Linked DNA regions of Homo sapiens: regions 1 and 3 are each linked to region 2. Evidence: promoter capture Hi-C in human tissues and cell types (Jung and others, 2019). All regions are on one chromosome and are shown on one strand. The core of a region is centred on a gene start or on the middle of the fragment in contact, and the rest is flanking DNA. Distances in the headings are between cores, read along the strand shown. Region 1 overlaps SCUBE1 (signal peptide, CUB domain and EGF like domain containing 1). Region 2 holds the start of PNPLA3 (patatin like domain 3, 1-acylglycerol-3-phosphate O-acyltransferase). Region 3 has its middle 6.4 kb from the start of LINC01639.

Region 1 (2,770 bases), core at 79-2,578, 660 kb after region 2:
GTACCCTAGAACCATGGGTGGCTCGGGAGAGGGGAGCAAATCACCCTGACACAAAAGTAGTTCTACAGACCATGCCCCACAATCTGACCTAGAGCAAGAGCTTGGTCTCCGTGGGTCACGAGGTGCCATTTACAGTGCAACTCACAGAGCAAAGCCTGAATCTAGACCCAGGCACCGTGCCCTTGCTTTCTCCCTAAGGGATATCCATGTAGATGGCTGCTGCACACACGCATATGTGTGTGTGCGCAAGTGCGTGTGTGTGCATGATACATGCAATGACAGCCCATTTGATTGTTACATATCATTGGCTATCCCCTTTCAGCCTGAAATTTTCTCTCTCCCTCTCTGCCTGGTCTTCAACCCGTCTCTTGTCTGTCTCTCTTCCCAGAGGGTATGAACTGCATGAACAAAGACCATGGCTGTGCCCACATCTGCCGGGAGACGCCCAAAGGTGGGGTGGCCTGCGACTGCAGGCCCGGCTTTGACCTTGCCCAAAACCAGAAGGACTGCACACGTAGGTAGAGGGAGACAAATGGGTCAAACGTCCCGTGCGTCTCCTGCCATTACTTTCTGGAGGGTCTGTCCAGTCTGCTGGACTTTGGCCAGGGAGGGTCCCCAGCCCCATGGGGTGGAGAGAAGGGCAGGGCCTGTGGAAGGGGCCTGATAGGGCATAAGGGACAAGGGTTGTAAACCCTAGCCTTGGGGTTTTCCGCACCAAGCACGACACCACCAGTGTAGCCCCAGGAGCTGGGCTGGATCTTATGGCAGCCCCTGAGCCTAAGCTGTCCAGCAGGAATGGTGGGGCCGTGGCACAGAGGTCTACAGGACCAGGTTTCTCGATGGGCCTGGGAAGCCCCTGGTAATGAGTAGTACAAAGAAGGAAAAGAGTATGGTTCTGAAGTGGTCCCATTCCGGGCTGTGCTGACCTTTTTTCCGGGACCAAAGATCAGAACTCTGCACACCTATAGTCCCAGCTTCTTGGGAGGCAGAAGCCAGAGGATCACTCTAGCCCGACTTTGAGTCCAGCTTGGACAATACAGCAAGACCCCATCTCTAAAATAAAATGTAAAGATCAGAACTCACAATTTGACCCCTGCAAGGCTAACTGCAGATGGTGATATTCTGGGAGATCTGGGCTGAATGAGGCCTCTGGCCAAAGACACCATTTCAGGATCTGCTTGGTGGTCTGCCTACGGGGCCCACGTGTAGTCCAGCCTCTTAATGGGGTCACCCCATTCCCCAGTAGGAGTAGGAGCCAGGAAACCAAGTAGAACGATGGCTGAACTCAGAAGCTTGGGAGCCAGTGCATCCTCCCCACAGCTACGTGGGGGAGATGGTGGGGTGGGCCTCTCCTCGTGGGAGATGAGGGCACCAGGGATACCCAAAGCGATGTCATATTTGCCCTTTTTACAAAGAGCCAAAGAAGACTGCTGGAAGCACTTTCCATCTCTGGCAAGAGACAAGTGCCTCATATCAAGCCCACATTCTAATGCAGAAAAATGCTAGGGAGAAGTGTCCAGTTCCAACTCCCAATAGAGAAGGTGGTCCTCACCCTAGCTGTGGAAATGAGAGACTGAGGCTGCCCCGCTGTCATAAAGAAAATGACCGTTCTTCCACCCATCTTTCTGTGGAGAGGACAGCTGGCCCTTGTTGGTCCATCATCCACAGTCACTGATCCTCTCAGTTGTCATCAGCTCTCCTGTGGGTGCCTTGCCATACCTTTCCCAACTCATGGTCTCCTAGAATAGTCACCAAGGCCCTGGGGACCCACGTGTACCAGATGTGATTCATCCATTCTTCAAAGTGAAGGTGCTTCCTTCTGTCCCAGGTATGGTCCAAGAGGCGGACCACCTTTCTCTGTGTTCCTGGCTCTTTCCTGTGGGGTGGCCAAGATAAGCCTGTATACTGTCACCCAGGGCAGGACCAAACGGGCAGTCTCGATTGGAAGTGCCAGCCTCCAGCCCCAGGGCTCCATCCAGGCCCCGTCTCCACACCAGATGGATTCCTTTAGCTGCAGAGAAGTCTTCTGCCCCCGGCCACCTCAGAACAGAAATGCTGACTCCAGCTTTCCCAGTCCCCCGTGTTGTGTGATCTGAGTTTCCTCACGAGAAAGGCCAAGGTCAAAAATGCATGGCGTCAGCAGGGTTGTGGATAGCCCTGGCCAGAAGGACAGTGCATTCTCTTAGGCAGAAGACAGGCCGAGGGCCTGCTCCAACTGGGCCTTGAGCCCAGTGCCAGGGAGAGGCTGCAGGTGGCCTGACTGTGGGCGGCTTGCTCCCTGACCCCATAGTACATCTGACACAAGCACTACAAGGAGGAGTTTGCTCAGAGAGCATCTTCTGAGCGCCAGCCTGGTGCGAGAGGTCAGGGACTAGGCAGGGCCCTGTGAGCAGCTAGGACACCCCCCACAACCCTCACCCCAGCTGCCCCCGCCAGGGAAGGGCTCAACCCTTGCCTGGAATATGTGCTGGCTTAAGAAACAGCAGTCCCACCCTCTCCGTGGGTGGCTGAATATCACCAAGGTATGGAGAGCCCGATGTGATTTCTGGGGCCTGAGGCCTCCCGTGAAGGGCCTGCACAGGCAGCTGCCCAGCGAGCCCAGCTTTGGCTGCTTCTGTGAGGTTAATGAGACAAGGTTGGTGAGAAGTTAGCTCTGAGGCATTCGCTCTAGTCCTTGAAGTCACTTGCATTCCAGGAAATTCCAGATCTCAAGCTGGGTTGGGGGCTGAGGCCTGGCTTAGCCAAGCAGCCTCTGTGGCTCAAGAGGACT
Region 2 (3,159 bases), core at 587-3,086:
CCCCACCTCCCAGTCAGCCCAGGGGCTGCCCACTGCTCCTACCCAATGGCAGGGCTTCCTCTGCCCGCTTCCTCACCACTGAACAGTCACTCCCTGCTGGCTCTGGCAGGCAGGGCAAAGAGTCCATTGTTAAGGAAGCCCAGATAAAAGGGGGCTAATGGGGGCATAATCTCCTGCCTGGGGACGTCTGGGTGTCAATAGCTTCACAATGCTACTTGCCCCAGCCCCTGCCTACTGGCTCACAACCCCCTCCTCGCCTCCAGGACTGTGGCACACAAATTCCCAGGAAGCATACCACACCCCAGTAGTTCCAGCTAGTGAGAAACAAACCCTCCGTCTGCACCCCCACCACACACACACAGGTACCCACATGGACAAATATTTCATTAGGACAAGATTCAAATGTACGGAATCTCATTTCCAGGAGTACTGAGCCGGAGAGGGGAGGGTGGGCCTAGGTCAGTGGAAACTAGAGAAGAGGATGGGATTGGGGGGTGTCCAGGGATGCACTCCAGCCCCCAGGAAGGGTCCCAAACACTGGAGGAGGAGGAGGAGGAGGAAACAACTTTCCTCTTTCAAGGTACCCCTCCCCACTAGACTCCAGTTAGCCTGCCCTGGAGGATGCCCAGGGTTGCCCTTCTGGGAGGCTACCCAGCCCCCAGAAGGCTGGGCTGCGACCCAGAGAGCGTAGGCAGCAGGGAGCAGTGGCTCACGCCTGTAACCCCAGCATTCTGGGAGGCCGAGGTGGGCAGATCACGAGGTCAGGAGATCGAGACCATCCTGGCTAACACGGTGAAACCCCGTCTCTACTAAAAAATACAAAAAATTAGCCGGGCTTGGTGGCTGGCGCCTGTAGTCCCAGCTACTCGGGAGGCTGAGGCAGGAGAATGGCGTGAACCTGGGAGGTGGAGCTTGCAGTGAGTTGAGATCACGCCACTGCACTCCAGCCTGGGCGACTGAGCGAAACTCCGTCTCAAAAAAAAAAAAAGAAAAAAAGAAAAGAAAAGCGCAGGCGCGGGGTGTCTTGAGTCCCTCAATCCCCAGAGGGAAGGAGCCCACCGTGGGGGACCGGCCAAAGCCCCACTCTTTGTCCGGCCCAGGGCAAATCGGCCCCTCGGCAGCTCAGCCCGTCCAGCCCCTCCCGAGAGGACACAGGGGACCCGGAGTCCGCAGGGGCCAGCACTACCCTCCGCCCCGGGTCCCGCTCCCTACTCCCCGTCGCTCCGAGACGCTCCGACTCTCAGTCCGGAGGTGAGGGTCTCCCTTCATGCACGGGCGCCTGATGGGGGTAGGGGTGGGGACGCACGAGAGTCCCAGGCTTCGGCCCGGACCGCTCGGGGTTCCAACGCCCCCTTCCCGGGCCCAGGAACAGCGCCCCCGCAGGAAGCATCTGCCTCGGAGGGGGCCCTCGGGATGCACCCCGCCGTGTCCGCGTCCGATGCCCGCTCCTCCAGGGCCCCGCGACCCCTGGGGATCCCCCGCTCCCCGGCCTAGGGGGCACCCACTCCGCACGTGGAGCCCGGGCAGCGTCCCCAGACGCACCCAGCGGGATACCGGAGAGGACGCCGACGCAGTGCAACGCCCCGGCCGAAGCGCCGAACAACATGCGCGCGTCGCGGAGGAGGTGCGGGGCGTGCTCGCTCAGGCAGCGGGTCGCCCCGACGTGGTAGAAGCCCAGGAAGCCGCAGCCCGCGAAGGACAAGCTCCAGCCGCGCTCTGCGTCGTACATGGCGGCGGCGGCGGGGCGGGGGCGCGGGTTAGGATCTGGGTCGGGATCGGGAATCGGCTCGGGTCCTGATCCGCAGCAGCTCCGCCCGGCGCCCGCAAGCGCTCTCTACCCTGCCTCAGTGTCTCGGCCAGGGCATTCCCAGCGCGACGTCAGCCCCGCCCCCCTCGGACCATGCAAATGAGCCGGCGGGAGGCCCAATGAGCGGGCAGGACGCCCTCCCGGGCGGGGCTTGGAGGGGGATGGGGGTGGGGACGACGTCTGGCGGGGGATGGGGGCGGGGACCGGGTCTGGGAGGGGGATTGGGGGCGGGGGCTGGGAGGGCGATGGCGGAGGACCTGTGCGGGGGGGTCCAGCCTGGGAGCTCCCCGCAGCGACTCGAGAGAAAGCATTTTTCCAAAACTCCAGCAGACACTGCATGTCCTGGAGAGAAACGGCTTCCTTCTGTTTTCCTTGACATCTGTTAAGTCGGGGGGTGGGAGGGGAGTCGCAGTTGGTGCCCACTTGATCCTTAACATCACTTTAACACTTTATCACGTCCCTTTTGACCCGGGGAGAGCCAGCCTAAAGCAGGCACCACCACCTGAAGAGTCTACTCTCTGCGTTGTTGCAGGCTTTCTGTATGATTGCCTTCAAGTGCTGGGGATTTTTTTCATTGAATGAAAGTAACAGGAAGTGTCCATTTCAAAGTTTCCTTTGTAAGTAAAAAATGTGAATGACGGGTGCTGGGGCTGGGGTCGGGGCCCTGTAGGAACTGGGGAGTGGGGAGTGCTTTGGGAAGCTGAGGCCTGGATGATTCCTGGTCCCTTAGTCCCTTAGTCCGTTCAGGTGCGAAAACAAAACACCTTAAAGCGGAGGGGCTTACAAACAAGAGATTTATTTCTATCTTTTTCCCCCCAGGCTGGAGTGCAATGGCACGATCTTGGCCCACTGCAGCCTCTTCCTCCCGGGTTCAAGGGATTCTCCTGCCTCAGCCTCACGAGTAGCTGGGATTACAAGCATGCGCCACCATGCCTGACTAATTTTTTGTATTTTTAGTAGAGATGGGGTTTCACCATGTTGGCCAGGCTAGTCTAGAACTCCTGACCTCAAGTCATCACCCACCTCAGCCTCCCAAAATGCTGGGATTACAGGGGTGAGCCACTTCGCCTGGCTTATTTCTCTGTCTCACAGTTCTGGAGGCTGGAAAGCCCAAGTTCAAGATACCAGCAGATTTGGTCCCTGGTGAGAGGTATGGCTCGTAGAAGGTGCCATCTTGCCACATCCTCACCTCTGGGCCTCTTTGATAAGGGCACCAATCCCATTCATAAGGGTGCCACCCTCTCATCAAATCACCTTCCAAAGGCCCCCGCCTCCAAAGATCATCACCTTAAGGTGTAGGATTTCAACAGATGACCTTTAGTGGGGACACAAACATTTGGATAGTAGCATGC
Region 3 (2,897 bases), core at 330-2,829, 530 kb after region 2:
CTCGACTGCCTTAAGCCCCAGCGCTTGGCAGGATGACATATCTTGGAACAAGCAGGAAGAAGAAGGGAGGCAGAGAAAGCCCAGCAGCCTGCTGGCCAAGGCTGCCTGCGATTCAGGAGGAGCTGGGATCCAGCCTCATTCCCTCATCTGTGTGGTGAGAACCATGGCACCTAGGGGAGGCCTGGCATCCTCTCTGAGCCTCAGTTTCTTCATCTGTAAAATGAGGCTGATAACATCAGGCCCTGTGCCACAGGACTGTGGAAAAAAGTACCCAAGATGGAGTTCCAGGCAGCAGCAAGCAGGTGGTAAGCACTCAATGGAAATTAGCTGTGCCTGTTATCATTGCCCCATCCAGGTCCCCCACACCAGCTCTTACATGAGAAAGGCTTTGATGAGTGCTATAGCATGCAGCTGGCTTATGAAGAAGGGTGGATGTGGGAGCAAAAAGGCCTGGCAAAGTGGGAAGAGCCTGGTGAGGGGGTCAGGCACACATAAGCTCAAGAGCTGACTCCCTGATGTAAGAGCTGGGCCACCTTGGTCATGCTGTTTAACCTCTCTGGACCTCTTTGCAAGAATTAAATGGGAAAAGGTGCATGAAGGGGTCTAGGAGGTGTCAGCACACAGTAGAAGCTTCATTAATGTCAGTCTCATTAGCCCTTCACTCCTTGGATTTGTGAATAGTAGAGAAAAAATGCTCTTACACACCTATGCATTCTCCGTCTCCCGCCATCTCGCTCGAAACCCTGATTTGGCCAGGCCCGGTGGCTCACGCCTGTAATCCCAGCACTTTGGGAGGCCAAGGTGGGTGCATCACCTGAGGTCAGGAGTTCGAGACCAGCCTGGCCAACATGGTGAAACCCTGTCTCTACTAAAAATACAAATATTAGCCAGGTGTGGTGGTGCATGCCTGTAATCCCAGCTACTGAAGAGGCTGAGGCAGGAGAATCGCTTGAACCCAGGAGGCGGAGGTTGCAGTGAGCTGAGATTGTGCCACTGCACTCCAGCCTGGGTGACAGAGCAAGACTCTGTCTCAAAAATAAAAAAATAAAGAAACCCTGATTTGTATCATCTGCCAATTTCCATGGTGTAAATACTCCCACTATGATCGATTTCAAGCTACCACAAGCTACCAACCTAAGCAGTGTCGGGAATAGCTATGCACAGATGACTGTCATGCATGATGAGAGCCAGCTCCATGACACCACAGCTGTTCACAGCTCCCCTTCTCCACCATCCACCCCTCTTCCCAACCCACTGCTCTCCTGCCACACCCACCATGTTTCTGGTCTCACACATGCCAGGGGTGTTCCTGCCTCAGGGCCTTTGCACTGAACTGCTATGTCCTCTGCCCAGAACATTTCTCCCCTGGTTGTGACATGGCTGCCATGTCTTGCTTTCCAGATCTCACCTCAGATATCACCTCCTCCAAGAAGCCCACCCTGATCACCTTGCTAATATTGCTTCCCCACCCCACACACACCCCTACTGCTCTGAGATTTCATGATATTTTATTTCCTTCATGGCACTCGACTCGTCTTGAAAGTCTGGCACACATTTATCTGTTGTGTGTGTTTATCTGTTTACTTTCTGTCTTACCCTCTACGGGGTTGGCTCCATCAGGGTAGGGCCCCATCCCTGAGGTCCCTGCTGTGTCCTTGGTGTTTCACACAGTGCCTGACACATAGTAGGTGCTCAGGCAATATTTACGGCACAGATGAACGAACGAACAATTGAACTAGGAACGTCAGGACCCACCTGGGCTGATCTTCCCAGGCCCTGCCTGGCCCACAGCCCCTCCCCCACCACAGAGTCCCCATGCAGCGGCTCTAATTAGCAGAGGTCCCCCCCCCGCCACCCAGTCCAGCCCCCTCGACTACGGCCCCATTGTGGACCCTGTAATTGCAGAGTCTCCTGCCTTTTTCTCCCCCACCCCAATTCTCCCTCTTCAGCAGAAAGAGGCCGGCCCCATTGTGCAGCTCCTGTTGACACAGGGATGACCTCACCGGGGGCCTCCTGAGAGGGGCCCAGCAGGGGAAAGGGGAGTGGGGAATAGAGGGGTGGCAGTGGCCCGGCCCAGGCTGGGAAAGGGCTGGAGGCTGAGGCCTGGGACAAAGGGCCACAGGAGGGTGAAGCCAAGGGTTGGGGGTGGAGGAAGAAATAGAGAAAGAGAGTTTCCAGGGGTAAGACAAGGGTGCTTTTCATTAGAGGGATACTTGAGGGAGGGAAGATTTCATCCCAAGAAAGGATCCCACAGGAAGACTGGGCCTGACGGCCATGTTCTTGAGGGAGTTTTGGAGACACAGAAAGACAGACAGACCTAGGCTTAGGACCTGCCTGTCGTGAAGGCTTGGAGCAGAGACTCCCCGAGCCTGGATCTTCATCTGTAAAATGGCAAATAATAATACCTTCCACCTGGGACTGTCTTGGGGTCTCTAGTAGATCACAGAGGCCAGGTAAGGACATGGTAAAGGCTTGATGGTCATTCCTCCCCACCCACTACTGACTCCGGCACACACATACGTGTGCTGTTGTTCTCTCTCTCTCTCGTTCTCTCTCTCTCTCTCTCTCTCTCCTTTTACAGACTTTACTCATTCCTTGCTGCTTCAAGCTGCCCACCATCTGGCAAGGTCCCTACCACAGTGACCCCCGGCTGAGCCTGGGCACCTGCTGTCTCCTGCTCTGGGCTTTTGCACTTGCATGTTCATACGTGAGCCCCCAGCAGGGCCACCTGGTGTCTGTGCCTGGATCTCCGCCCCAGGACCCTGGTTATTGCTCCAGCCCTGAGCACCCCACTCCCAATCCCCCTACCTGAGGGGCCCTGGGAAGGGAGCATCTGCCCCATGACACCTGGGGAGCCCTGGGTTTGCCATCAAGTCCCTCTCCCTGGGAATGGGACA

The links. The method cuts DNA at HindIII sites, captures the fragments that hold promoters and counts their contacts. A contact is called where the count stands out against the background at its distance.
Region 1: a fragment that was not itself captured here is called in contact with the fragment with the promoter of PNPLA3 in region 2 in 2 of the 25 tissues and cell types used here (IMR-90 fibroblasts and spleen).
Region 3: a fragment that was not itself captured here is called in contact with the fragment with the promoter of PNPLA3 in region 2 in 2 of the 25 tissues and cell types used here (dorsolateral prefrontal cortex and mesenchymal stem cells).

What each region holds. Positions count from the first base shown.
Region 1 is chr22:43,260,464-43,263,233 of GRCh38, reverse strand. SCUBE1 (signal peptide, CUB domain and EGF like domain containing 1) reads left to right here. Exons shown (of 22, transcript NM_173050.5): 5 at 389-514. LOC124905129 (a long non-coding RNA gene) reads right to left here. Exons shown (of 2, transcript XR_007068120.1): 2 at 1-2,770. Among named protein-coding and RNA genes, the nearest start is that of SCUBE1-AS1, 14 kb to the left of the region's middle. The HindIII fragment of the contact is 8,212 bases long and covers 1-2,770 here.
Region 2 is chr22:43,922,482-43,925,640 of GRCh38, reverse strand. PNPLA3 (patatin like domain 3, 1-acylglycerol-3-phosphate O-acyltransferase) reads right to left here and starts at 1,836. Exons shown (of 9, transcript NM_025225.3): 1 at 1,543-1,836. The coding sequence starts at 1,729. RefSeq lists enhancers at 534-1,276, 1,277-2,021. The HindIII fragment of the contact is 10,497 bases long and covers 1-3,159 here.
Region 3 is chr22:43,392,455-43,395,351 of GRCh38, reverse strand. No RefSeq gene overlaps it. Among named protein-coding and RNA genes, the nearest start is that of LINC01639, 6.4 kb to the left of the region's middle. The HindIII fragment of the contact is 9,041 bases long and covers 1-2,897 here.